Regions from separate parts of the Homo sapiens genome. Here all the other regions are linked to region 1. The links are contacts of gene promoters, found by promoter capture Hi-C in blood cells and fetal thymus (Javierre and others, 2016). All regions are on one chromosome and are shown on one strand. The core of a region is centred on a gene start or on the middle of the fragment in contact, and the rest is flanking DNA. Distances in the headings are between cores, read along the strand shown.

What was found. The method cuts DNA at HindIII sites, captures the fragments that hold promoters and counts their contacts. A CHiCAGO score of 5 or more calls a contact.
Region 2: a fragment that was not itself captured here is called in contact with the fragment with the promoter of CERS1 in region 1 in 1 of 17 cell types (erythroblasts); the score reaches 6.3 in erythroblasts.
Region 3: a contact is called between a fragment that was not itself captured here and the fragment with the promoter of CERS1 in region 1, in 1 of 17 cell types (total CD4 T cells). The highest score is 5.3, in total CD4 T cells.
Region 4: the fragment with the promoter of ELL here is called in contact with the fragment with the promoter of CERS1 in region 1 in 1 of 17 cell types (non-activated CD4 T cells); the score reaches 7.3 in non-activated CD4 T cells.

Annotation. Positions count from the first base shown.
Region 1 is chr19:18,893,235-18,900,254 of GRCh38, reverse strand. It overlaps CERS1 (ceramide synthase 1), which reads left to right and starts at 4,097. Exons shown (of 8, transcript NM_021267.5): 1 at 4,097-4,431; 2 at 6,680-6,839. The coding sequence starts at 4,183. GDF1 (growth differentiation factor 1) reads left to right here and starts at 4,097. Exons shown (of 8, transcript NM_001492.6): 1 at 4,097-4,431; 2 at 6,680-6,839. It overlaps COPE (coat protein complex I subunit epsilon), which reads left to right. Exons shown (of 10, transcript NM_007263.4): 9 at 308-382; 10 at 529-741. The coding sequence ends at 576. RefSeq lists a silencer at 5,047-5,096. The HindIII fragment of the contact is 17,655 bases long and covers 1-7,020 here.
Region 2 is chr19:18,480,199-18,487,218 of GRCh38, reverse strand. All of the region lies in intron 1 of ELL (elongation factor for RNA polymerase II), which reads left to right. Among named protein-coding and RNA genes, the nearest start is that of ELL, 38 kb to the left of the region's middle. RefSeq lists enhancers at 1,167-1,752, 2,600-3,100, 3,101-3,601. The HindIII fragment of the contact is 4,478 bases long and covers 1,766-6,243 here.
Region 3 is chr19:18,500,393-18,507,412 of GRCh38, reverse strand. The region is part of intron 1 of ELL (elongation factor for RNA polymerase II); the gene reads left to right. Among named protein-coding and RNA genes, the nearest start is that of ELL, 18 kb to the left of the region's middle. RefSeq lists enhancers at 2,731-2,780, 6,001-6,987. The HindIII fragment of the contact is 9,226 bases long and covers 1-7,020 here.
Region 4 is chr19:18,517,888-18,524,907 of GRCh38, reverse strand. It overlaps ELL (elongation factor for RNA polymerase II), which reads left to right and starts at 2,838. Exons shown (of 12, transcript NM_006532.4): 1 at 2,838-2,987. The coding sequence starts at 2,853. RefSeq lists enhancers at 2,345-2,674, 2,818-3,333, 3,334-3,849 and silencers at 3,065-3,374, 4,105-4,154. The HindIII fragment of the contact is 8,691 bases long and covers 1-6,381 here.

The DNA.
Region 1 (7,020 bases), core at 2,848-5,347:
CTCCCTCACAAACCCTGTGCCCCCCAACCCATCCTCACCTGGGGCCCTGCCCGACCTGCTCCCCTGAACACCACAATACATCCCCCACCATGTACGGAGGCCAGCTCCATGCCAGCGCCTCTCCAGGGGGCAGGCCCATCCCTCCACCCCCACCCTGAAGGTTCTCCGAGATCAGCCCAGTCCCAAGGCAGGGTGAGGAGCCCCCTGGGGTACTGTGGCTCTCACCCCAATCCACCCCTGTCCAGCAGGTCAGAGCCACCGTGGGGTCCCCGTGTTCGGCTCACCTGCCTCCCTGCCTCCCCTGCAGGTGACAAACCGATACCTGTCCCAGCTGAAGGATGCCCACAGGTCCCATCCCTTCATCAAGGAGTACCAGGCCAAGGTGAGTGGTGGGGATGGCCTGTCCCCGAGAACCAGGCCAGGGGGCGCCTGGAGCTCAGCCTGGGCTCACATGCGCCCTCTCTCTCTCCCTCCACCTGTCTCCCCACACCCTGCCCCCACCCTGTGTTGCCATGTGTCTTGCTAAAGGAGAACGACTTTGACAGGCTGGTGCTACAGTACGCTCCCAGCGCCTGAGGCTGGCCCAGAGCTGTCAGGACCATGAAGCCAGGACAGAGGCCAGGAGCCAGCCCTGCAGCCCTCCCCACCCGGCATCCACCTGCATCCCCTCTGGGGGCAGGAGCCCACCCCCAGCACCCCCATCTGTTAATAAATATCTCAACTCCAGGGTGTTCCACCTGATGATGTGCTCTGGTCACTTTGCTGGGGGCGTGTGGGAGCTGACGCTCAGGGAGAGTCCTGGGGCACTGGCATCCAGGGCTGTTCCTGGAGACCAGGGTCTGTGACGAGCAGCAGGTGTGCAGACCCCCACCCCGCCCCTCACACAGCCACAACCTGCTCCTGCAGGCCAGAGGCAGCACAGCCCTGTCCCCATGCTTCACCCTGGCCCCTAGAGGCCACTGAGCAGCCCTGGTTGGCATCGGGGGAAACTGAGGCACAGAGAAGTCATGCCGCTATCATGAGGGGCACCAAGATTCAAAATGAGAACCCCTAGTGGCCTGGAGGAAGTGGGGGCCAGGGCAGGAAAAACTCAGGCCTCAGCTCAGCAAAGCCGGAGGGGCCCTGCAGGGTCAGCGTTAACCCCAGGTGCTGCTCCTGCCGCCCCGCAAACCCTCCTCCAAGGCAGAGTCCTGCTGTGGCAGGGTCCTGGGGCCAAGCACCCAGCCGCGATGAGAGGCGGCCGCACCATTTAGGGAGGGAGGTGGGTGGGTGGCAGCAGGGCTGGCCGGAGCCTCCCAGATGTCACCATTGAGCTGTGCCCACCCGAACAACAAAAAGGAGCTGCCAGGCTAGGTTCTAGGGGGACAGGCACCCTGGCAGTGGGCATGACCGGTGCAGAGGTCCCTCGGTGGCACAGGGCTGTGAGGTCAAGGGGCGCTGGATGGGGATGCATGCCCTTTGACCTCTGAGCCTGGCCTGGGCTTATCTCCCAGGGAAAAGATAAGACTGGGTTTCCCCAAGCCACACCCAGGCCTATTCATTTGAAACCAGACCCCGTCTCTGGTTGCCAGGGCAGGACAGCAAGCGACCCCCACCCCCAGCCTGGTAGGGGAGGGAAGTGGCAAAAGAGGACTCCCTGGACAGGGACATTAGGAGGGGTCCAGGCCGAGCTTTCTGGAGGGAGGAGACCTTGGGGTGGGTGGGGGGACACTGGCCTCAAGACTGACCTCCGCCCAGCCTTGGGTGCCTGGTCCCCAGCTGCCAGTAGAGCCGCCTTCCATTCCTGCCCTGCACCCACCCGTTGGCAGCCTCCTGGCTGGACCCGCCAAAAAGAAATTCGAGGCTGAGCTGGGGCTAGTGGGTGGGTGGGTGGCGCCTCTCCCGTGACCGATGGGCGCCATGGTGACCAGATAGTGCTGGCCGAGAGGGTGGAGGGAGGTGGCTGGGACTGTCCACGGCTGCCCCACAGGCCTGGCTGGACCTTTGAGAGCATATCCCCCTCGTCCCCCTCTGCCTGCCAGGCAGGTTGTGGCGTTAGTCACATCTCTGGCCTCCGGCTGGACCTGAACTATTGGCCAGGCCAAGCCTCGTGCCCCACCCCTACACTAGGCCCCTAGTCCACATGGAGTCCACGTTCAAGAATAAAGAGTGGGGCCAGGCACGGTGGCTCATGCCTGTAATCCCAGCACTTTGGGAGGCCAAGACAGGCAGATCACTTGAGGTCAGGAGTTCGAGACCAGCCCGGCCAATATGGCAAAACCCTGTCTCTACAGAAAATACAAAGATTAGCTGGGTGTGATAGCAGGCGCCTGTAATCCCAGCTACTCGGGAGACTGAGGCAGGAGAATCCCTTGAACCTGGGAGGCGGAGGTTGCGGTCAGCTGAGATTGCGCCACTGCACTCCAGTCTGGGCAACGGAGCAAGACTCCAACTCAAAAAAAAAAATGAGCTGTATGTATGTAGGGGCAGATGGTGACAAGTGCCAAGCAGACATGAAGACATGAGGGGCGTGTGACTTCAGAGTCGGGGGCAGCCTGAGCAGGTGGCAGAAGAGCCATGCAGGTACCTAGGGGAACAGCATTTCAGGAGGGGGGAACAGCTAGTGCAAAGGCCCTGAGGCAGGACAGAGCTTGGCATGTTGGAAGAACAGCAGAAAAGCCCACAGGCGGAGGGAAACAGGGCGCTGTGAGGGCAGCCAGTGAGGACTTGGGCTTTCCCTGAGTGGAACAGGAGCCATAGAGGGCTGCAAGCAGACGAGGAACAGGCCAACAGCGTCGCAGCCACCTTCTCACCTCTGTGGGGTGAGGAGGAAGCCAGGATACCAGACGGAAGAGGGTAGTGGTGGTAGTGGTGGTGGTGGCGGGGAGCGGGGGGCAAGGCTGTGCAGATGCAGAGAAGTGGCCAGATGCAGGGCCACCTGGATGTGTTGTGGGGGACTCGGTGTGGGGCAAGGGGAAGGTGTGTTCACCTGTGCCCCTGAAGTTCAGGTGCAGGTGTTCGGGAGCCAGCGCGGCTGCTGCAGGACTCATCCCTGCATCCTGCACCTTGAAGGCCAGGTGTGGGGACATCCTGCGGGCTAGGATGGAGGGGGGGTGCAGCAGTGCCTGGGGAGATGGCGGTCCTAACAGAGGTGACCAGTGTCTTCCTCGATGGCCTTCAGTGGCTTTGGGCACAGGGCCTTGTCAATGAACAGTGCATTGGAAAGTCACTTATGGTGGTCCCAATGATGTCACAGTCGATCCAGATTGGGAGTCCCTCCCACGTTGGCACCCACTCCTGCAGCCTCTCTGCAACTCATGTATTAACCTGATGTTGGGGAGCCCCCCCCCCGGGTTCCCCAGGGTCACAGCAGCAAGTGACCCTCAGAGAACCCCCTAATCTCAGCAGCCCCCATCACACCTTTGTCCCAGTAGCCCGCTGTGCAGACCTGCAGAAGAAGATGCCTGGGAAGTGCCCAGGGTACCCGCGTCCAAGCTGGAACCCCATTGCCAAGCTCCTGGTGTAGGGCAGAGAGCTGCGTCTCCACTAGGTGCGCCTCCCAACGCCCTGGCGTGGGCCGTGTCCTTTTGAAGAATGAGAATGTTTCATTGAGCCTACGCCTCCTGAATGCGGGAGGGCCACGGGATGGTCCCAAGACTGTGCCAAGGCGTGCCAGGCCTCGGGTCCTTGAGAAGGAGCGAGGGCTCCAAGAACGGTGAGGTCGGAGCGGGCCGGGGCGATGGAGCGGGAGCGGCGTGGCGTGCTGGAGGGCCGGGAGAAGCGGGGGTCGCCAGTCGAGGGGACTGCCTGCTAGTGTCCCCCGTGCCCCCCGTCACGGGCACGGCGCGGTGGGGTGGGGGAGCGGGGGGCGCGCGGGGCAGGCATGGGGGCGCGACACGGCGGTGCGCGGGGTCTCTCGGGGTCCAGGTCCAACGGGCCCCCAGCTCCGGCCCCCGCGCCTGGGTTTCTCTGCTGGGAAACGGGCAGGGGCGCGGGCCCGCCTCCAGGGCGCCCCGCGTCCCCGCTGGCCGCCCCCCAGCCGCGCCCCCAGCGGGGCGGAGCTTGCGCCGGTCCCGCCCCTCCGCCCTCCGCTCTCCCGCCCGCGCGCCCCCGGCCCAGCTGCGGCGCGTGACGCGGGGCGCGCGGCTCCGTCGGCTACCGCGGGCGGGCGCAGGCGACGGGCACGGCGGGCGAGCGGGCGGTATGGCGGCGGCGGGGCCCGCGGCGGGGCCGACGGGGCCCGAGCCCATGCCGAGCTACGCGCAGCTAGTGCAGCGCGGCTGGGGCAGCGCGCTGGCGGCGGCGCGGGGCTGCACGGACTGCGGCTGGGGGCTGGCGCGTCGCGGCCTGGCTGAGCACGCGCACCTGGCGCCGCCCGAGCTGCTGCTGCTGGCGCTCGGCGCGCTGGGCTGGACCGCCCTGCGCTCCGCGGCCACTGCGCGCCTCTTTCGGGTCAGTGTGGCCGGGGGCCGGGACGAGGGGACCCCGGACTGGGGGAAGCCGGGACCGGGGACCTGGGGCCGCCGGCGCGTTCCTTTCTTCCAGCGCTGGCTGCTGCGGATGAAGGGGTCGCCGGAACGTGGGTGGGGGCCTCGGGCTGGAGAGGCCCAGGACGTTGGAGCCCCAGGATAAGGTCTCTCGGGCCGCCGCGCGCCCCCTTCAGACAGTGCTGCGTGGGGGAACCGGGTAGATGCGGGGGTGTGGCCGGGCTGGGGTGAGTCTGGGACATGGGGGGCCCGAGACAGGTGGGATGTTTGAGACGTGGGGGACCGAGGCACGGCCCTTTCCGGTCAGTTTGGGACCAGGGGGCCCCGCGCGGTGGATGGCTCCGGCCACCGCGCGCTCTTTCCGGCAGGGCCGAGCCAGACACTGAGAAGCCCAGGACCGGGAACGGGAGGGCTCGGCGCACCGCGGCCTGCGCCATGCGCCTCCCTGCCATGCGGGCTGCGCCCCGGCCCGGAGCGAGGTCCGCTGCCCGTTTTCTGCTGGGTCCGTGCGGCGGCGGGGCCGGCTTGCCCGCTGTAATCGGGAAGAGGCAGGAGCTGCCCGGTCGCTGCCTTGTGCCTATCTGGGGTCAGCGCCACCCTCCGACCAGGGATGGCAAGGGCCTGGGTGCTCTGGCCACGCCAGTGGTCGCTCCCTTGGAGGTGACATGGCCCGGGGCTTCAGGGTTGGACTGTGCTGCCTCCAAGAGGCGACAGCAGAATTCCCCAGTTTCTGCGGAGACCATCGCCCCTGCGAGAGAGTGACCATGATGGTGACATTGGCGCCTGACCCCACTCACTTCCCTGGGGAGGGGTCGCTGTGGCAGGAGCTGGTTGGAAGGTGTTTGGGCCTTTAGCTTGGCCTGGACACCCCCGTGGACCAGCTGGTGTCACCCCGCCCGTCTGGCTGGAGGGTGCAGGGACAATGTGCCCAGCGCCAACAAAGGGGCCTTTCTCTGCTGGCCGGGAAGAGGCTGGCCCTTGTGAGGTCGATGATGGGATGTTGTCTGACTGCCACTCTCCCCACTCCCGTCCCCATATCACCCACATGAGGGAGAGACCCCAGCCACACCCCTACTGTGGGAGGGGGAGACAGGGCTGTCCAGGGCCCCTCCCTGGGTCCGCAGTGGTCTTTATCCTGCTTGTTGCCCCTGCCTTCTTCCCAGTTTCCAGCTGGGAAGCCCGAGACCCAGGAGGGCAAGCCGTCCCCCACCCCTGCGGGACAGGAGGATGTGGCGGCTGGTAGACTACCAGGGCCGAGCCCCGGGGGCCCTCCCCAGCCCCTTGGGTGGGGTGCTCGCCCCATTTCGAGGCTCGCCCTTCCTCAGAAATGGGTGGAGGGGCTGCCGGGTGTTCCAAAGCTGATCTTCTTGGCAGCAGCCTGGTTGCCAGGGGTTACCGGAGCCGGCTCCAGCTGTCTCCATGACAACTGCTGGGTGCTCTGGGCTCCGGCCCCCTCAGCCTCTGGGAAGGGGGTGGGACTTGTCCAGGGGTGGGGCTTGGCCGGGCAGCTCTGGAGCCGCGCCCCGCCACCCACCCACCCACCGCACTCCCCAACCCCTGCCTTGGAGCCAGCAGCTTCCTCTGCACTCCCAATGTCCCCTCAGGGTCTCACCTCGCCTGTGACACCTTTTCCGCCTCCTGTCCCCTTTTTCTGCCTCCAGCCCCTCCTCCCCTTTCATCGCCCCCAGGTTCCCATGTCCCCGCCACACCTTCCCCCTAGTCTCTCCCAGCCCTCTAGCCTCTCCAGAATCTCCCACTGAGGGGGCGGCTTCCTCACAAGTTCTTCCTCTCCCCTCTGTGTCGGTCCCATGGGGCTCTCTGTGTTTCCCAAGATGCCCCCATATAACCCCCTCCATGTTCCCTTCAAGGGTCACCCCCACCAGCCCAACTCCCTTGGGCTGACGCATCCATCCGTCTCCCTCATCGTAAGCCCAAGTGTCCCCCTTCTGGCCCCCAGAGCCCTCCTGCTCCCCTCGGGGCCTCCCCCCTCACTCCCCTCCCAGCACCGCGGCGGCCGGACAGCTGGGCACTAAGTTTAGCCTTGGCAGGCGCCTGTGGGCTCTGTTTATGCTCCAGGTGGCTGTGGGCATGGGGGACAGGCCTTCCCAGTGCTGCCCGGCCTGGGGAGTCCCTGGGCCTCAGTTTCCCCACCCCAAAGGAGCAGTCTCTGGCCCCCAGCACCAATGGCTGCCCGCCTGTCTTCTCCCCCATAGCCCCTGGCGAAGCGGTGCTGCCTCCAGCCCAGAGATGCCGCCAAGATGCCCGAGAGCGCTTGGAAGTTTCTCTTCTACCTGGGCAGCTGGAGCTACAGTGCCTACCTGCTGTTTGGCACCGACTACCCCTTCTTCCATGACCCACCATCTGTCTTCTACGGTAGGGGCCCTGAGGGGATGGCCGGGAGGGCTCTGCTTAAAACACAAAGACGCCAGGCTTGTGGTCCCAGCTACTCATGAGGCAGAAGCAGGAGGATCACTGGAGCCCAGGAGTTGGAGGCCAAGGGGAGCTATGAGCACGCCACTGCACTCCAGCCTGGACGACAGAGTGAGACCCTGTC
Region 2 (7,020 bases), core at 2,755-5,254, 410 kb after region 1:
CTCTGGAGCCCTCAATGGGTTTTTATGGGGAATGCCAGCCCATATGGGCAATGGCTCAGAAGCAGTTACTCCTTTCTCAGGGGGTCTCCTGGTGGGGGGTAGCGGGGTCTGAGCAGCAGGGTCTACACGCACAGGGCCTTCTTTGTGTTCCTGAGTGATTAGGATTTACCCACTGCGTGGTGGTGGAAGCATCGGAGGTGTCAGCATGGCATGTAGCTGACGGTGGAGGCCAGCATCTTGGAAGGCTTTGGTTGGCTGCAGAGGCGCATGTGGGTGAGGTGGCAGGCAGGACCCGATGCCAACCTTTGTGGCTGGCAAGGTCACATCCCTGAGGTCCAGATGTGGCAGCTCCCAGGTTGCAGGTTCAAACTGGGAAGGGGACCTAAGAGCACCCTTGCAGTGAGTACTGGCTGGGGACCACGGGTCATGCCTTGAAGGGTGCCAGATTCTCTTGGCATCCTCTTATTTTTCTGTGATCTTTGCCTATCTTCTGGGACAGGGGTTTGGGTGCTTTGCAGAGGTTGCAGTGAGCAGACAATGAGATGAGGCGGTAAGAGCCGAGTCCGGTGCGGAGCTGTGAATCATCCAGGCGGCTGACGTGACACAGGGGCCCCGTGAAAGGGCGTGGTTTCTGCTTCAGAGACAGGCTCCCTTCTCAGAACCGCCTGGGTCTCTGAGGGCCTCAGGGGCAGCCTTGGTGAGTGTGGCCGACCACCGGAGGAGGAAGGACGGTCCTCCTGGGTCCTGAGTGTGTGCCTTGGTAGCTTGGCAAGCTGCCATCTCCTTCTGACCTGGGTCACATCCACAGTGGACACTCCCAGGACCGCACCCCCACTCTGGGTCACAGAGTACATCTTGGGTGGGTCTGTTGTACATAGACTGTTAGAAACGGGGCAGAGTGGCCTGAGGACGAGGTGCTCAGCAGCCTCTCTCTTCCTGCCCCTGTTGAGCCAGTGCCTGACACTGACCGCCCTTGGGGCCCTGAGCTAAGCTTCACACAGAAGCCCCTCCCCAGATTCCTTCCCAGGTTGCAGGGCTCCCACCCGAGGTGGAGCCCCCTCTGCAGGGCAGCCTGGGGGTGTTTGTGCTGTGGGGCTTGTTGCTTCCTGCCAAGGTCAGCAGGGGGTGGCTGTGCTCTCAGGGAGAAACAGTGGCTGAGGGGCTTCGTGATGCATCCAGGAGAGTGCCTTAACTGTTTTCATCCCCGTAGCTTGCTTTCTTTTTTTTTTTTTTGAGACAGAGTCTCGCTCTGTCGCCCAGGCTGGAGTGCAGTGGTGTGATCTTGGCTCACTGCCACCTCTGCCTCCTGGGTTCAAGCAATTCTCCTGCCTCAGCCTCCCAAATAGCTGGGACTATAGGCGTGTGCTACCACGCCCGGCTAATTTTTTGTATTTTTAGTAGAGATGGGGTTTCACCGTGTTAACCAGGATGGTCTCAATCTCCTGACCTCGTGATCCGCTCGTCTTGGCTCTCAAAGTGCTGGGATTACAGGTGTGAGCCACCGCGCCCGGCCCATCCCCGTAGCTTTCCCAGTGACTGTGAATGTGGCACGAATTTGGGCAAGGGATACCCTCTGCCTCCAACCACCAGGCCTCATGGGGCACCCTGGGCTGGGCCTGAATCTCGCCTCTAAGATGAGCCTTAGAGTTGGGGGCCAGACCTGGTCTCCCTGGTCTCCCTGGTCTCCCTGGCCCTGGGAGGAGATGGGCTCCCATAGTGGAGTGTTAGCTGTTTTCAGGGGAGAGGTGGAGGCAGCTGGAAAGCTTGGGTGCACTGGGGCTCGGCAGAAGGGGCCAGTCTGCTCTGTGGTGAGGCTGAGGACGGGTGGCCTTGGGAGTGTGGCAGAGAGGAGGCGCTCTAATAGCAGTTGAGCTTGGAAGGCCCAAAAGTGAGGTGGCCCTACAGACTGACAGGTCGAAGGCACACACATGGCCTTGTCTGCAGGGGAGTTGAGATGGAGGCCTGGAGGGGCCTCCTGGGGAGAGGAGAGCCCATGGGCCGCTTCTGCTGGGCTCCAAATAGTCCCATGGAGGTGAATGGGGTTTGGGACCTCCTAGCTGCCTGAGCAGGAAGCACAGTGGCAAGGCAGAGCTGCATTCTCAGGGACCCAACCCCCACAGAGGCCTGGCCTGGGCTCTGATGAGGGGATGGCCCATGTCAGGCCCTAGAGCGTTCTCATTCACCTCAGAAACGTCAGGAACCCAGGGCTAGGAGAGGCCCATGCTGTGCCCTGGAGGACCCCAGTGACCTAGGTCAGTCCCTTAGCTTCTTCCATTGTCAGATGTGATCAGATCATGGTCACTGTTGTCTGGGGGAAAGCAGTTGTTATCTGGCACCGCAGACCATGGGCAGAAGGCAGGTTTGGTGAGAGGGCAGTTTCTCGAAGGCCTTCCGTTCAAAATTCCTAGGTCCAGTACCTGTTGTTGGTGAGTTTTAGTGAATGATTAAAAAGAAAAACAAAACCCCACCAAACTCTTGCACTCCTCTTGAGGAGCACAGGTGGAGGCAAAAGAGCATTGGTTGTGAAGCCTCATGTGCTTCCTTGCCGGTTTTGTTATGTTTTGTTTTGTTTTGTTCTAAAGACAGTATCTCTCTCTGTCACCCCTGCCGGAGTGCAGTGGTGGAACCATGGCTCACTGCAGCCTCGATCGCCTGTGCTTAGGTGATCCTTCTGCCTCAGCACCTGAGTAGCTGGGACTGCAGGTGCGCATTACCACACCTGGCTAATTTTTAAATTTTTTATTTTTCTTTCTTGAGACTGAGTCTCACTCTGTTGCCCAGGCTGGAGTGCAGTGGTATGATCTTGGCTCACTGCAACCTCCCCCTCCCAGGTTCAAGCGATTTTCTTGCCTCAGCCTCCCGGGTAGCTGGAATTTCAGGCACCTGCCACCACGCCTGGCCAAAGTTTGTGTTTTTAGTAGAGATGGGGGTTTCACCACGTTGGCCAGGCTGGTCTCGAACTCTTGACTTCAAGTGATCCACCCACCTCGGCTTCCCAAAGTGCTGGGATTACAGGCGTGAGCCACCACAGCGTCTGGCTGCCAAACGGGATTCTGTGCCCATCACACTGGCACTTGCAGATTTGCTCTGTTTCAGACACTGCAGAGTGCGCTAGAGGGGACAGAGGGGCCTGACACTGTGGCCCAGGTGCCCATGGAGTGTACTTGTGCAGCAGGTGCCCACATACGACAGCGTCTTTCCCTGTTTGAAGAAAGGCAGATGCAAAAGGTGGAATAATAAGGGGGAAAGGCAAAGTTAAGGTGTTGGCAGGAGGGCTTGTGCCAGGCATGGGTTGCATGGCTCTGAGATGCACTGTCCTGGAAGCAGGCCTGGGCCATGCCTGGAGATTGACCCATGGAGGTGCAGGCAGGGTGGGCAGGGCAGGCAGGGTGCTTGTCCCTCCCTTGGAGGGAGACTTCTGTCTGTCTGATGAAGCAGGGCTCAGGGACATAGAAGCACTGTAACTTGAAGAATTGTGTAGTAAATGTTTGTCATATCCTGCTACCCTGGGATCATGTGAGGTTGGATAAGTTGTGAAATCTTCATGGGGACCCCAGGGCTCAGTTTTCCTGTGAGGTTGGGATGAGGTCTGCTGTGACCTCGGGCAGCCCTGTCCTCTCTCAGTACCTCATTTTCCTCAGTTGTAACAACCGGAACCCGATCCCATGCAGTTTAGGATGAGAGTGGGTTAGTGATGGAGGCTGGCCGTCTGTGGTACCACGAGTCCTTGCGTGTGATTTGGCTGTGATTTCTACGGACAGGGAGTCCAAGCAGCTCCCCCACCCCCAGCTATGACGCAGGAATGGACAGACATCTGAGGGGCTTCCCATGAGACACAGGCCACTTTCTGCTCACCTGCTGAGCGCCTTCTGGAAGAAGGACCTGGATAGTGTCCAAAAACCCTGCACTGCAACTGCCAGGTGGGCGGTGGCATCCGGGGAATATCCAGGGAGCATCTGTGGTCATGACCCAGGGTGCATGCAGACAAAGGAATCTGAGAGACCCTTCACTGGGGGCTGTGGCAGCCACGGGTGTAGGCAGGAGTTACCCAGAGCTGCTAGTTTGGGAGGGGAGAGGGGAGTTGGTAAAGAATGGCAGTTTGGAGGATTTTCCTAAAATAGAGCTATTTAAAAAAAAGATGGGAGTGTGATGGCTCACGCTTATAATCCCAGCACTTTGAGAAGTTGAGGTGAGAGGATCGCTTGAGCCCAGGAGTTTGAGACCAGCCTGGGCAACACAGGGAGACCCCCACCTCTACAAAAGAGTTAAAAAAACAACGTAGCTGGGCATGGTGGCACAGCTGCTTGGGGATAAGGTGGGAGGATTCTTGAGCCCAGGAGACTGTGGCTGCAGTGAGCTGTGATAGTGCCACTGCCCACTGCCTGGGCAACAGAGTGAGGCCCTGTCTCAAAACAACAGCAGCAACAACAACAACAACAACAACAACAACAACAAAAACCAAAAAGATGGGAGGAACTAAGACACAAAATCAAGACCCACCCATAAAAGAAAAAAATTGAAAAATTCCACTCCATCAAAATTAAGAACTTCTGTATTTTGAGAGATACTGTTAAGAGAATGGAAAGGCAGTCCAGGCGCAGTGGCTCACGCCTGTAATCCCAGCATTTTGGGAGGCCGAAATCACTTGAGGTCAGGAGTTTGAGATCAGCCTGGCCAACATGGTGAAAACCCGTCTCGACTAAAAATACAAAAAAATAAGCTGGGTGTGGTAGTACGCACCTGTAGTCCCAGCTACTTGGGAGGCAGAGGCAGAGGCAGAGGCAGAGGCAGGAGAATTGCTTCAACCCAGGAGGCGGAGGTTGCAGTGAGCTGAGATCACACCACTGCACTTCAGCCTAGGTGACAGGGCGAGACCCTGTTTAAAAAAAAAAAAAAAAAAAAAAAAAAAAGGAATGAAAAGACAAGCCATGGACTAGGAGTAAAATGTAAAATTTATCTGATAAAGCTCTTGTATATAAAAAAAAAAACCTCAAAACTTAGTAAGAAAATGACCCAATTTTTAAAAATGGGATAAAGATTTGTACAGCTTCACCACTGAAGCTAGAAGAATGGCACATTAGCCTGTAAAAAGATGCTCAACATGCTTAATCAGCAGGGAAACCCAAACATGAACCTCCACGAGCTGTCACTGCACCACACACCTACCAGAATGGCTGACATTTTAAATAAGCTGACAGCACTAAATGTTGACGTGGATGGGGAGCAACAGGAACTCTCATTCGCTGCCGGCGGCAGTACAAAATGGTACAGCAACTTTGGGAGCCAGCCTGGCAGTTTCATATTAAATTAAATGTACACCTACTCTGTAACCCAGCAGTCGGGCTCCTGGGTGTTCACCAAGTGAAATGAAAACACGTCCACAGAAAAACCTGTCCATGAGTATTTATAGCTGCTTGATTCATTAATTCTCCAGACTGGAAACAACCTGTGTCCTTCATCCAGCAAATGGATGCACGGGAAGGTGGCGTATTTATACTGCGGGGCAACACACAGGATGGATCTCAAAGGCGTCATGCTGAGTAGGTGGTTGGCTGAATCATGGCCACAGCAGATTCCAGGAACCTGTGAGTGTAACCTTCTGTGGAAAAAGGGACTTTGCAGATGAGATTAGGTTAAGGATCTTGAGATGGGGAGGTTACCCTGCATTATCTGGGTGGTCCCTGTTTGTCATCACAAGTGTCCTCGTAAGAGAGGGACAGATTTAATGTAGACAGAAGAGGACTTGAAGGCTGCATGACCCCAGTGGGCAGAGATTAGGGTGATGCAGCCACAAGCCAGGGAGTGCCTGAGCCTGCAGCAGGTGAAGAGGCCAGGAAAGGTCCTCCCCTAGAGCCCCCAAAAGGAGGGAGCCTGCTAACACTTGGATTTCAGACTTCTGGCCCCCAGTCCGTGAGAGAACCAGTTTCCATTGTTTTAAGCCACAAGTTTATGCTCAGTTGTTGCAAGGACCACGGGAAACTCATCTTATGTGATTCCATTGATAAGACTTTCTGGAAAGGCAAAACCATAGGGACAAAAAAACAGATCCAGGATTGCTGAGGGTGCGGGGAGGGTCAGTCTCCAAGTGGGGATGCAGGAAATTGGGCAGAAAGGAAGGTGGCCTGCTCAGCGTGCTGTCCTGGGAAAAGCAAGCAAGGTGCGTGGAGCGTGTAGAGGCCACAGTTTTGGGCAATCTGCATATTTTTGTCTACAAGATTTCTGAAAAACCCTTTTCCATAAGCTTTCTATGCACCTTCGTGAATGCAGATAGAAATATCTGCTGCGGGCTGGGTGCGGTGGCTCACACCTGTAATCCTGGCACTTTGGGAGGCTGAGTCTGTCGAGTTGCTTGAACCTAGGAGTTCAAGTCCAGCCTGGGCAACATGGCAAAACCCTATCTCTACAGAAAATAGAAAAATTAGCCAGGTGTGTTGGTGTGTGCCTGTGGTCCCAGCTACTCGGGAGCTGAGGCAGGAGGATCACCTGAGCCTAGAAGGTCGAAGCTGCAGTGAGCCGTGTTCACACCACCGCACTCCAGCCTGGGTGACAGAGTGAGAGCTTATCTCCAAAAAGAAAGAAAGAAAAAAAATACTTGCTATGCCGGCCACTGAATTACACTTGGCTTGTAGCCAGTTGGAGTCCCTTTCCTGCTCTTACAGGCCCACCTGGCCTGCTGAACACACCATCTGTCCTCCCAGGCTGGCAGAGGAGCTGCCGTGGGTCCTGCCCTCTGCTCTGCCCTGACCGTGGCCACCTGGTTCCCTAGGCTGGAACCAGTGAGGTCCACAATGTGTCTGTCCAAGTTCCCTAGCTCGTCCCTGAGCCAACCAAGCTCACTGGGCAGATCTTCCTTTGTTTTGTAGTTCACGGAGACAGCCCCACTCAGTCACTGTCTAAACTCTCCGTGGCCTCAATGTCCTGCTCCAGTCCTGCCAGGAAGTCTCAAGGAGGATTCCTGAATAGCGTTTCCCAATCATTTGTGCTTTACTGGAAAGGGGGGGCCTGTTGTGGGGAGGCCAC
Region 3 (7,020 bases), core at 2,103-4,602, 390 kb after region 1:
AGACTCAGAGGAGGACTTCCTGAGCAGTTCTCTGCCAAGGGGCTGTGGGTCTGTGGCCAGGCTCTGGCAGCAGACTTGGCCTGTTTTCACTCTTCTTATCTGGGGATGTTATCTCTCCCTTTTCAGAGTTGGGTGTGACCCTTGAACTGCCACAGGCCAGGCACAGACTGTGCAGGGAGGTATCTGAGGGCAGGGAGCGGGTGCAGCTAGAAGAGCGTGTTCCTTCCTCTCCTGGTGGCACTATTTTTGGAGTTGGATGCTCTCAGACGCCTGCTTGTTCCAGTGAAATGTGCTCAGCTCACACTGGATTTGGCAAGTGGGAGGGGACAGCCAGTGCTGGCAGCCTGTGTCCAGCTCATCTCCAGGCTGCCCTGGCTCTCTTACCTGTGCACAGGCTCCCACTGGTCGAGGGCCATGTGCCTGGAGCCACATGACCCCATAATGTAGGAATCGCTTCCATCTTGTAGGCCAGCTCCTTGTAGATAGGAAGTGGAGCCGTGTTGAGAAGGATTCTGAGGCGATGTCTGGCGTAGAGCGTAGGATCAATGAGACAGGGTCCCTGGCCCTCTGATCATAGCATCTCTGTGGGGAGAGTTCCCTCTAATCTCTGAGCTGAGGAGGGTAACGAACTCCTAGGTGTGCAAGGTGAGGTTCACATGCTGTTGAACGGAAGTCTGCTTTTGTTTTTTCAGACGAGGTCTTGCTCTGTCATCCAGGCTGGGGTGCAGTGGTGTGATCATAGCTCACTGCAGCCTTGGCTCCCGGGCTCAAGTGATCCTCCTACCTCAGCCTCCCAAATAGCTGGGACTACAAGTGCGTGGCACCACACCTGGCTAATTTTTTATTTATATGGAGACAGAGTCTCCCTGTGTTGCTCAGCCTGGTCTCAAACCCCTGACCTCAAACGAACTTCCTGCCTTGGCCTCCCAATGTGCTGGGCTTACAGGCGTGAGCCATGGCACCCAGCCGAGCAGAAGTCTGGGCTGATGCTGCACCCCAGAGGCACAGGAGCTTTGGATCCCTTTCCCCCTGGGGGAGAGGGTAACTTGCCACAGTCTGCTCTGAAGCAGCCCGGGTGTCCCTCCACTGTGGGAGGCGGCTTAGGAGCAGGCGCACCTTGAGGGTGGCCCAGGCAGGTCGCTGGAGGGTGCGGGAGACAGGGCCCAGGCCTGGGGCGGTGCCAGCAGGGCTGTCTCCATGTTGACTGTGGGGGGCTGGTTCCAAGCCAGGCTTCAGACCCAGCTGCTGCGTGTGGCATGGCCTGAGTGCCAGGGGCAGCAGCCTGGGCACACATGGGCACCCAGGGCTTGGAGGGAGGCTGGGTCAGTGGGCCTAGGTGCAGAGCTTCTGGGTGTCTAGACTGTTGTCCCAGGGATGGCTGAGGGCCAGCATGGGGGGCCCAGGCTGCCACCTTTGCCTCACTGGTATTGGCCACATGTGTGCTGGGTGGTCTGTGTAGTACAGAGCAGGACACAGGGTGGGGGTACCTGACTGTACAGTGGTGCCACCCTCTGGGCCTCAGTTTCTCCCTCTGCTGTGTGGGGTCATCCTGTGGGTGGGAGGTCAGGTCAGTGCCTGCAGCCCCTCCTGCAACTCACATTCACCTCTCCTTACTTTGCTTTCCTGTCCGTGGGGTGTTTTGGGGTTCAGGGAGCTGTGTCCCAGGACATCAGGGGAACACAAGCCGCATCCCGTGGCCCCCACTCCTCTCCCGTCCTCTTCTCCCCTCCCCTGTGTGTGCCTGGTGCCTTAGGTGGCTTGCAAGGCGCCAGTCACACACTGTTTCCTTTCCCGGCTTAGCCCTTTCCCATCACAGAAACCCCAGCTCTCTCCCAGGCTATCTCATAGTAAGGAGCCTGCGTTACTGAGGGCTGTTGAAGCACCAAAACCTAGGAAACTCTGGATGAGGTGAAGAGCATGTGTGTGTGTGGCACAGGTACTATGGCCCTGCCCAGTGCTCTGCACACCTGCCTTCCTGCCTGCCTGGGAAGTGGGATGAGTAATGGCAGTAGCTGGGGCTTATTGCCGGGTGCCCTTGCCCGTGGGAGGGTGTGACTGGCCACAGCATCCTTAGGATGAAGAATTGAGTAGAGAAGAATAGCAAAAGCTATCTTCAGTCCTAACAAGAGCCTAACTAGTTGGGATTGCATTTGCTGTTGGGTGAGCTGTGGCAGATGCAGAAGAAAGCACACCACAGAGGAGAGGGGAGGGGAGGAGAGGATGGGAGAGGAGTGGGGGCTACGGGACAGTGGCTTGTGTTCCCCTGATGTCCTGGTATGTCACTGCCCTCTGGCACACAGAAGTTGCCCATCGTTCTCAGTCGCCTGAGGTTTGGCCATGATGGCAGGAGGGTGAGATGTCCTGAACCTTGACCTGCTGCTCCCACAGCCCTGGCAGCCCAGAATAGTCAAAGCCTGGGTTGTCTCCACAAGGCAAGAGTTTTTTCCTCTGCTGGAGCTGTGGGCTGAGAGCCTCCTGTGCGCAGGCATCACACATCCCCAGGCCAGGTGGCTCCTCGGGTGCTCAGGGCTGTGGGGGCTTTGTGTCCCTCAGGCCCTGTCCACTGGACAGGTGGTGGCAGGGCTCCGTGGAGAGTGTCCCAGAGTAAATGGGTTCTGGTATATGCAGTGTTTCTCATGACAGCCCATGGGGTGTGTTGGTGGGGGGAGATATAGCTCATGTGCCAGTGTCACTCTCGGGCCTTGGCAGGGATGCAGCTGGGAGAGTTCTGTTTATTTAAAGTCGAGCCTCAGGTTTTCTGCTGTGACTTATTAACCCGTTGATCCACCCTGTGGGCGGTGCCAGGCTCTTCTGAGGCCTGACAGGTGGGCCTAACCTCTGCTGACCAATGACAGAGAGCATCACTGCTCTGATGACCGGACCCAGGCTGCAGGTTCTGGAGTCTGTAGCCACTTCCCCTTCCTCCCAGGCAGAGATGAACGTGACAGGGATGAGATGTACATGGCAATTTCAGATGGGAGTTGAAGAATGCTGAGCTCTGTAGAAAATGTAGGGGAAATTTAGCAAAGCAAGCCACGCGTCATGGATTTCAATCAGGATGTGACTTGAGATGTGGGTAATCCCGAGAGTCACAGATTGCTTTGGAAAAACAGAGCAGGAGTGGCCTCTGTGCGTCAGTGAGCACACCCTTAGGTAGATGGCTGACAGATGCCCTTTGCCCACCTCCCCTCCTCCTCAGCCTCACCCCTCCAGCCTCTCTGTGCCGTCCCTGGCCTGTTGGCACAAGTGGCTGAGGAGGCCAAAATGAAGTGATGCATGCTTAGCAGAGGTGCCAGCACAGTTGACCCCTGCATCCGCCGTGACAGCCCGCAGATCCTCTGCACGCTGCAGCCACCAGGCGAGGCCTCCCTGGATGCCGAGGAGTCAGTGCTTCAGTGAGCCCCTTGGATCAGGCGGGGGGATGTGAGTGAGCGGGTTGTCCACATGGATAGGAGTGGGGTCAGACCTAGCGTCTGGCCAGAGTGTGTGTCCTTAACCTTGGCCAGGCAGCAGCCAGGCCCCCACGTGTGACTCCAGTTAGCCAGGTGCATTCTGAACGGGAGTGATGAGTGACAGTCCCGTGGGCCCTCATCCAGCCTGCAGCAGGGAAGGCTCCCTGAGGAGGGAAGCTCGGCAGGACCCAAGGAAGGGTGGTGTTTCTGAGCCCTAGGCGGGTGCTTGGGAACAGCCCATTCTCCACTCCCGCTGGCTCCAGGTGGCCAGAGTAACAGGTCCCGTCCCTTCCCACCACTGCTCAGACATCTCCTCACAGCCCCTGAGTGCTCAGCAGCCGTGGCTCTGCACGTACCCTGAGCTCTGGGTGTCTGGGGCCACATCAGCTCACTTGGTGAACTGTTACTAGATGAACATGTGGTGGGGCCGGGTGAGGAGGAACGTGTGTCCTGCAATAGCCTGTTCTGTCTGTTCCATCACCTCCAAGAGCCCACATCCTGCCTGGGATTCCCAGTACGGGCAGCTCAGTTCCTCAGAGCCTGGCCAGACGTGCCCCCCACTTGCTGGGGCTCCCTCGCTCCTATGGGTCTGCTTCACTCCCTTGCTGTTCTCCAGCTTTGCCAGTTGCCTTTTCCAGAAATAAGACAGAAAAACTCTGTCACCTTCTTTTCATCCCACTTATCACCCCAGGGTGGGGGTGCTCCCTCCCAGATGCCATAAAGATACCCGCGGCCCTGACTGCTGGGCGGGCGGTGCCACTGGACACTCTCCAGACCACGGATGCTTACAGGGATGTCCCTGCGCTGGGTGCCAGCCTGGCACAGTGCGAGTTCCCTTTTCTTTTTAAGCCAGGTTCCTGTTTTACCACATTAAACCAGCTGTAAAGTGCCACTTTATAAAATAAGCAAGTGATAGGGAGCCACTCTGGCAGGGCCCAGGGAGCCGAGCAGTGCCTCCCAGCCCTGTGCCTGTGTGTGGTGGGTGTGCAGCCACTGGAAGTGCCGAGCTGCCTGCCTGGAGCGCTGGCCTGCCCTGTTAATAACCGAAGCTCTGCTGGGCATTGGCACACCCGGCCAGGTGGCCCCGTGGTTTCCCAAGACAGGGGCTTTTGGATTCCGCATTGATGGCCCAAAACTCCTTCCCTAAGTTGTCTCAGAAGCAAAAACAGGAAGGTCATTGGGTTTCTTTGCAGAACACTAACCCATGCTGCCACCCCGTGTTCCCACTCCTCCTCCTGGCATCTGCAACATGACAAGTGGCAGGTGTCTGGTGTCCGTTGTCATTGGGCCCTCTCTCTCATTTAAACACCGTCTCTTCCTCCTCGGCTTCTTCAGTTGTCATCTCTCAGAGATGGGATTTTGGGAAGTCCCATGTGTGGATTACTGGGACTTTTGTGGTTGGGGATATTTGATCTTTTAGTTATAAACGTCTGCTCCTGATGCGGCTGGTTGCAGGATTTCCCTGGTGGTGGGGGTGCCCGCTGGCAGAATTGACTAAGGTGAGCTCACTGCTGGGTTCTGGCAGCCCTGCCCACTGCGAGGCACAGTCACCACAGGCCTGGCCCTCACCTGGGACACCTCCCTCCCCTCCTGGCCTGCCCACAACTCAGAAGACGTAGTTGGTGCTCTCCACGGATGATGGCTCCAGGGAGCCTTTGTGTACCCACAGCTGTTCCATGGTCCACCCTAGGGTGGTCATGTGTCTCCCTTGCTGTCCTGGAATCCTTCATTCACCTCTGGGTGCTGGACTGGGGGTGTGCGTCCTCAATGGGCTATCTGGCTGTGGTGGTAGGAGCCTCCCGGGTGCTCCTGCCCCGTGGAGCTGTGGGGCACCAGGCAGCTTAGCGTAGAGCACCAGAGCACCTCCCACTTGCTGTAAGCTCCTTGTCCCCATGCCAGGTGCTGCTCATGCCTCTGTGGGACGCACTCCAGCAGCCTCTGGGGGTGACGCCTGGTTCCTGATCGTGTGTCTTCTGACCCCAAACCACCCTCATGAGGCCCCAGGACCTGCCCGCCAGGCCCCAGTGTTTCTTCCTCTTCCTCTTGACTGTGTTCAGGGCCTTCTTTTGGAAAGGGCTGTCCTGGTCACTGGTGCCCATGCTGCCTCCCCTCCTTCCTGCCCACCCGCAGACACGTAGCTGGAGGTTGAGGATGTGGGGGAGATGCTCCCCAAGGATGGACCATTTGTGGGAGAGTCCGAATTTGCCTGGATTGGTGGTTTCAAGTTTCTTTTGCTTTTATGTGATGCCATCACCTCTTGGGCCCCCAGGTGTGTCAGATGGACCAGTGGGAAGTGCCTGGGATTGGGCAGATCCTGTCCTAGTGAATCCTGGCTGTCCTCGTGTGCACTCGTGAGTAGCCGGCCCCTGGCTTGGCCCCCGTCTCATCCGCCTGGCTCTGAGCTGGCTGTGCCGTGGACCAGTGTCTTGCTCCCTTCTGCCAGTGGCCCCTCACTCCAAGGCCCCGGCTGGCCTGGAAGAGCTGCCTTGAAGTGTGAGGCACGTTGGAGGGTCCGCCTCATTGTTGAGGCGTGGGCCCCTCCTCGCCAACAGTGGGCCCATCCCAGGCCCTTTCCCACGTTCTCTCGCTCAGCAGGGTTTTTGATTCCTCTTAATTTGGTGTTGGTGCTGGGCACACACAGTATTGCTCTCATCCGGGTCTGCTTGGTGGCTTCTCATGTGTTTTGCCCACTTGCGTTACTCTCTGTGGTCCATGGCTGTGCTCACCACTGTTTCCCATTGGGTGGTTTGGCGTGGAGTGGGGTTCACTGTGTCACAGGTTGTCTACGTGGCCCCTGGAGGTGTGCTGCTTGCTGCCCACAGGCATAGCTGGCGAGAACAGTGTCGTGGCCCGCTCGTTCTTCTCCTGGGTGTGCGCCCACATGCTTGGGATGGGACGGCATTGCCTCTCCTGCTGTGAGTTTTGGCCCAAGTTCGGTGGTTGGAGGTTGGCCTGCTTCCCTGCAGGTTCTGCTCTGTGGAGTCACAGAGTCAACTCTGTGGAGTTGAATTTGGCGAGCAGCCGCCATGTGTTCACTTTCCTGAGTGTGATCTGTGTGCAAATTGGCTGGTATTTTTTGAAGCACTCAAACTGTATTAGGCTGTTTTTGAGAGTCTTGGGTATGCTTCAGTGTACCTCAGTGACGTATTAAAAAGCTAAAGCAGTGTTTTTGAGTTGAAAAATAGTGAGCTTTGTATGGCCCCTGACAGTTCCCAGAGCTATTTTGCACAATGGTATGTTCCAGCCCAAGACCACCCTCTGCCATGCTGCCCGGGGCCTGGCACAGGGAGAGCTCGCCAAGAGGTTGCAGGGCACCAGTGTTATGCCGACCTTCCCAGGGGACCAGTCGACCTCTCCATCGGCCCCAACACACAGCTGCTTCCTTGAGGGAACCTCCCAGTTCCCGTCTCTCCTTTTGTGAGAATGGACTCTCTGGGAACAAAGCTGTGCCAGGTCCTGCCTGGAGAAAACTGGATTCTGTGTGTAAGATTTCAAATGTCACAAGCAGCCAGTTGATGGAGCGGCTGTGAAGGTGGTAGGAGAAGTGGACCTCTTGAAGGGCACTTGG
Region 4 (7,020 bases), core at 1,589-4,088, 370 kb after region 1:
GACAGAGTGAGACTCCGTCTCAAAAAAAAAAAAAAAAAAGAAACTTCTGCAGAGCATGCCAACGTCTGATAAGTTCTGCCTTATTTTTCCTGGGGTCTCATTGAGATCCACTGGGGAATCAAATGTAAAGTAGACGTGGAGAAATACTTTTTTTTTTTGGGACCGAGTCTTGCTCTGTCACCCAGGCTGGAGTGCAGTGGCACGATCTCGGCTCACTGCAAGCTCTGCTTCCTGGGTCCAAGCTATTCTCCTGCCTCAGCCTTCTGAGTAGCTGGGATTACAGGCGTGTGCCACCATGCCTGGCTAATTTTAGTGTTTTTAGCAGAGACGGGGTTTCACCATGTTGGTCGTGGTGGTCTCGAACTCCTGACCTCATGATCCAGCCCCCTCGGCCTTCAAAAGTGCTGGGATTACAGGCGTGAGCCACTGGGGGCCTGGCTTTTTTTTTTTTTTTTTTTTTTTTTTTTTGGAGACAGGGTCTTACTCTGTCACTCAGGCTGGAGTGCTGGAATATAGTGGTGCGAACATAGTTCACTACAGCCTCAACCTCCCATGGGCTTGAGAGAGCCTCCCATGTCAGCCTCCGGAGTAGCTGGGACCACAGGGGTGCTCCACCATGCCCGGCTAATTTTTTTAATTTTTTAAATTTTTTTGTAGAGAGGGGGCTTAGCCCTGTTACCCAGGCTGGTCTCAAGCCCTTGGGTGCAAGCGATCCTCCCGTCATGGCATCCCAAAATGCTGGGATTTCAGGTGTGAGACACCTTGCTAGGTCCTGAGTACTGCTCTTATTGCTGTTTCCTGTTTCCGAAGTGAATCCACAGAGGCTCAGAAGCAGGAGGTGCCTTTCACAAGATCACAGAGCGAGCTGGTTGGCCCTCCAAGCCAGCTCCTCCCTTGGCCAGGCGCAGTGGCTCACGCCTGTAGTCCCAGCACTTTGGTAGCCCTAGGCAGGCGGATCACCTGAGGTTGGGAGTTAGAGACCTGATCAATATGGTGAAACCCCGTCTCTACTGAAAATACAAAAATTAGCTGGGCGTGGTGGTGGGCATCTGTAATCCCAGCTACTCGGGAGGCTGAGGCAGGAGAATCGCTTGAACCTGGGAGGCGGAGGTTGCAACGAGCTGAGATGGCACCGTTGCACTCCAGGTTGGGCAACAAGAGTGAAACTCTGTCTCAAAGAAAAAGAAAAAAAAATCTCGGAAATTAGATAGTGGTGACAGCTACACAGCATTGGGAATATATTTTATATGTAAAATGTGACTCAATGAAGTTGCTTTTTAGAAAATGGAAGGCTGGCCGGGCACAGTGGCTCATGCTTGTAATCCCAGCACTTTGGGAGGCCGAGGTGGGTGCATCACTTGAGGTCAGGAGTTCCAGACCAGCCTGACTAACATGGTGAAATCCCGTCTCTACTAAAAATACAAAAAATTAGCTGGGCGTTGTGATGGGCGCCTGCAGTCCCAGCTACTACTCGGGAGGCTGAGGCAGGAGAATTGCTTGAATCCAGGAGGCGGTGGTTGCAGTGAGCCGAGATCACACCACTGCACTCCAGCCTGGGCAAGGAAATCGAAACTCTGTCTAAAAACAAACAAACAAACAAAAACTGGGGGAGGTGGCTCACGCCTGTAATCCTAGCACTTTGGGAGGGCGAGGCGCGCGGATCACCTGAGGTCAGGAGTTCAAGACCAGCCTGGTCAACATGGTGAAACCCCATCTCTACTAAAATACAAAAATTAGCTGGGCATGATGGCGGGCGCCTGTAATCCCAGCTACTCGAGAGGCTGAGACAGGAGAATCGCTTGAATTCAGGAGACGATGGTTGCATTGAGCCGAGATAGCGCCACTGTTCTCCAGTCTGGGCTGATGAGCAAGACTCCGTCTCAAAAAAAAAAAAAAAGAAAAGAAAAGAAAATGGAAGTCTGGGCTTGGTGGCTCACTCCTGTAATCCTAGCATTTCAGCAGACCCAGACAAGGAGGATCAGTTTGAGTTCAGGAGGTCGAGGGTGCAGTGAGCCATGATGGCGCCATTGCACTCCAGCCTGGGCAACACAGCAAGACCCCTCAAAAAAAAATTAAAATAGGAAAATGAAGCTGGACTGCACCATCGCTCAGGGACTGTGGGGATGTAGGATTTTATCCTATTAAAAGTACTCATCTCATAAGAAAAAGTTTACCAGCTCCTCTTCCACCTACCGGTCCAGCACCTTCCCTGGGTGGAAGTCCCATCCACCCCGCCTAAGGGATGCCTTATGTGTCCAACCCAGCGTCCAACGCGCGCGCTCCGTTTACATAGCCACGCCCACCCTCCCGGCCCGCGGCGGGGCCTACCCACCCACGTGTTTCGAGCCGGCTCCGCCCCTCCACGCCCTCTCTGCGGCTTTCCACAGAAGCCAAAGACGGAAGACTGTAGAGATCTCATAAATAATGCATCACGTCAGCGGCTGTAGGGGCGGGGCTTTGACGCGCCTGGCTGGCTGAGTCAGGGTTATGTATAATACTATGGAGGCGGGGCCTGGAGGGGTGCGCGTGTTGAGGCGGAGTTCGTTCACGGAAGTGGCCACCCCTAGGGCCTGAAGAGGCGGGGCCATAAGTGCCTTATGAATATGCAACAACTTGGGGCGTTGACTGTGGGCCTTGTGGGGCCCTCATGGGGCGTGGCCAGGCGCGTCTCCTGAATAATGTAGTGCGCTGCCTGCCGGTGTGGCGGCGACTGTTGGTTTGGTCGGACTCGGGGGGCGTGGCCAGCCGCGTCTCATGAATAATGCAGCGCGTCAGCGGGCGGCGGGGCGGGGCGTGGCCGGCGTGGCGGCGCTGGAGCCGGGAAGGGGGCGCGGGGGAGAGATGGTCGCAAGATGGCGGCGCTGAAGGAGGATAGGAGCTACGGGCTGTCGTGCGGGCGGGTTAGCGACGGCAGCAAGGTGTCGGTGTTCCACGTGAAGCTCACCGACAGTGCCCTGAGGGCCTTCGAGAGCTACCGCGCCAGACAGGTGAGTGGCATGGCGCCCGGCGCGCCAGTGGGGAACGTCCGGACGCGGGCCGGCCTCGCGCTCCCCTCACTGAGGCGTCCGGGCTCGGAGACGCTAGGTCTGTGGTGCTGCTCGCGGGTCCCTGGGCCGGCGGGGCGCGGAGTGGGCGCCAGTCCGGCCTGGAGCGCTGAGAACCGCGTTCCTTCTCAGCACTAGGAGGCAATACAGGCGGGTGGCCCGGGGCTGCTGAGGGGCCCAGACTCGCGCGCCGGGCCCGGGGGGCGTCGGTGTCGGCACCTGGCGGCGTCCGGGGCCTTTCTGGCCTGCTGGGCACCTGGGCAGGGTCCAGTTTGCGCACCTGGCGGCGGGGCGAGGAGGCGGTGGGCCGCACGGTCCCGGCACCGTGATAGGGGGAAGCTGGGGGCTTTTCCATCTGGGGCCGGGGCAGCGCCGTTGGTGGGGGTGACTGTGTCTGTCCTCCTGGGAAGCAGCGATCGTCTGGGTGCCCGGCAGGGGGTGGTCAGCGAGGCACTTGTGGGGGTCTGTTCTGTCTGGGTGGAAGGCTTTGCAGCTGGGGGCTGGCTTTGACGCGTTCCGATGAAGCCACTCAGGTTGGGCCACTTTGGTTCTTGGGACGGGGAGTTTGGGCAGAAACTGACAGCTTGTCCCAGCTTTCTGCTCCCCTTACCCCCAGGTGACCCTCTCTCTCCGGAGAGAGGTTCCTTGGAGAGTGGAAGTGTTGGGGGCGGCTGTGATGTTATCCTCAGGGCACATGTAGGGGATCCCTGCCACCCAGGAGGAAGCTCTGGCTACCACATCTGGCCGCTGACTCTGGAACTTCTCAGAGGCCGATTTGGGCCCATCTGGGGGAAGTTTGAGGCGTTTCGGTTCTGCCACCTGGCTGGTGGTGGGGAGGGGAGGCTGCTGTGTATGTTCTCTTGGGCCTGACTTTGGGGCGCATCTGGGGCCGTGGTCAGAAACCTGCCTTTTTCATTTCTGTTTGTGTCATGGCCCCCCCTCCCCCCGTCTGTGCTGGGTCAGAAGTTGCAGATGACCAGTGGTCAGGTCCCGAGGGGAAGTGGTTTAGGAACCTTGTAACTCCTTTTCTGGAAATTGGGGGCTTCATTGCCCTAAAGGGAGTGGGGGTGGGTCTAGTCTCGGGCTCAGAGAGCCCTGCTCCCTGCGTGTGTGTGTGTTTGTGTATACTGTTGATGGTGGGGGTGGGGGGGTGCCGCGGGCGGGGGAGGAGGGAGACTAACTAGGAAGGAATGTGGCTTTCTTCCTGCCCCGAACTTGTTCAGCTCCATTAGCTAAGCCGAGAATTTCTTCCCCCTGTTTCGTTTCCACCACTCTCCCGGTGCCCACCCCTTCCGTGCTTCTTCCCATGTCTTTGGGCAATTTCCTCCCTGTCCCGGTGTCGCAGTTTTCCCCTTCATGGAATGAGGATTTCATTTTTTTTTGAAAGAGCAAGTTCGCACCTTGTCAAAAAGACTCCCCAAGATGAGGCTAAGGCGCCCCTGCAGGTGAGGAGGAGACAGTGGCAGCGACAGCAGCTGCTGGCCCATGACCAGCCAGAGCCTCTCTTCCTGGTAGAATTCTGGCCCTGGGTCTTTTTCCCTGAGCGATTCTGACTTGTCCTGCAGGAAGGCAGGCTTTCCTAGAAACAGCTGGGGGAGAGCTCGTGAGTCATATAACTACGATGGACTTGGTACCTGGTCACCACTGTCTTCTGTGCTTTAGGAACCAGGAGCTCCGCCTTCTCTCTGATGCTGCCCTCGCTTGCTTTTCAGTCCAGAAGGTCCGCCTGTGTGTCCACCTCATGCTGTCACACTGCTATTTTTACTTTAGGGTATTGGTTACATCCCCTCTCTAAGCTGGATCTTCCTCATGTTAGGGTGAAGGTAACTGTGGACTGTTAAACTCCTCTGGCTCGGAGCCCAGCTGTGTAGGGCAGTGTGTTGACCAGCCAGGAGGGGCTTCCTAGAAGAACTTTTCCAAGCCATCCAGAGCAACTTGGCTGGCTGGATTATATTTTGGGGTGATTCAAACTTGGATTTTTCTCAAAAAGCTGTCTGGTAATTTAAGTGGCTTGGCCACTTTCTTTCTTTCTTTCTTTCTTTTTTTTTTTTTTTTTTGAGATGGAGTTTCACTCTGCTGCCCAGGCTTCATTGAGGTGGCGCGATCCCGGCTCACTGCAGCTTCTGCCTCCCGGGTTCAAGCGATTCTCCTGCCTCAGCCTCCCGAGTAGCTGGGACTACAGGCACGTGCCACCACACCCGGCTAATTTTTGTATTTTTAGTAGAGACAGGGTTTTGCCATGTTGGCCAGGCTGGTCTTGAACTCCTGACCTCCAGTGATCCGTCCTTCTCAGCCTCTAAAAGTGCTGGGACTACAGGCATGAGCCACTGCTCCCAGCCAGCTTGGCTACTTTCGAATTTAATCTTGCCCATGGGGCAGTATAGTGGATGGACTTTTCTAAGGCACGGCAGCTCCGTGCTCTCTGTGGTTTTGGGTAGTGAGCTTGAGGAAGGTGGCTTGAAGAACTTGATTGTGTAACCAGAGAAATATACTGGTTATGGACAAACTCTCATGTGGACAACTCTATCACCCAGAAGCCAGAGTTTTGTATTCCTCGATGCTGTGGTTATATAGTTTGCCAATTGCAACTTGTGGAGAGGGCTTTTATTTTTAATTTCTTTTTTTTTTTTTTGAGACGGAGTCTTGCTCTGTTGTCCAGGCTGGAGTGCAGTGGTGCGATTTTTCGTGTTAGCCAGGATGGTTTCGATCTCCTGACTTTGTGATCTGCCCACCTCGGCCTCCCAAAGTGCTGGGATTACAGGCGTGACCAACCGTGCCCGGCCTATTTTTAGTTTTTAATTGTGAAGAGGCTTTTACAAATTCAGGTGTGGCAGGGGCTAGAAAGGAACTTGCTGTGGAACTTTCTCTGTGGCTCCCAGGAGCAGGTAATCCTAGCTCTGGGAACAGCCCAGGTAGAAGCCCTCCTGTTTTCTCTCCCCAGAGGGCTCTGGTGTTGACCTGGTAGCCAGCTGGAGCAGCGTGGTGGAAGGTAAAGGCGCAGCAGTACACATAGCTGCTGGCCTTCTCACTCTACCTTGGACTTTGTGCAGTTTTTCTTTCCTTTTTTTTTTTTGAGACAGGGTCTTGCCCTGTCGCCCAAGCTGGATTGCGCTGGCGTGATCTCAGCTCACTGCAACCTCCGCCTCCCGGGTTCAAGTGATTCTCCTGCCTCAGCCTACCAAGTAGCTGGGATTACAGGCACGCATCACCGTGCCTGGCTAATTTTTGTATTTTTGGTAGAGATGGGGTTTTACCATGTGGTCAGGATGGTCTCAAACTCCTGACCCCTCAAGTGATCCATCTGCCTCAGCCTCCCAAAGTGCTGGGATTATAAGCTTGAGTCGCCACGCTGGGCCCCCTTTTTTTTTTTTTTTGAGACAGGGTTTTGCTCCATTGTCCAGGCTGGAGTGCAATGGCATGATCATAGCTCACTGCAGCCTCGAACTACCACCCTCCTGCTTCAGTCTCCTGAGTAGCTGGGGCCACAGGTGTGCACCACTGCACCTGGCTAAGTTTTAAATTTTTTTGTAGAGACGGGGTCTCACTATGTTGCCAAGGCTGATTTCAAACGCCGGGGCTCAAGTGATTTCCCTGCCTCAGCCTCCCAAAGTGCTGTAATTACAAGAGTGAGCCATCGTGCCTGGCCTAGTTTTTGTTGTTGTTGTTGTTGTTTTTTGAGACAGAGTTTCACTCTTGTTGCTAGGCTGGAGTGTAATGGTGTTATCTTGGCTCACTGCAACCTCAGCCTCCCAAATAGCTGGGATTACAGGCATGCACCACCATGCCCTACAAATTTTGTACTTTTAGTGGAGACGGGGTTTTACCATGTTGGTCAGGCTGGTCTCGAACTCCTGACCTCAGGTGATCCTCCTCCCTTGGCCTCCCAAAGTGCTGGGATTATAGGAGTGAGCCTTCGTGCCTGGCCTAGTTTTTCTCTTTTCTTTTCTTCTTCTTCTCCTTCTTTTTTTTTTTTTTT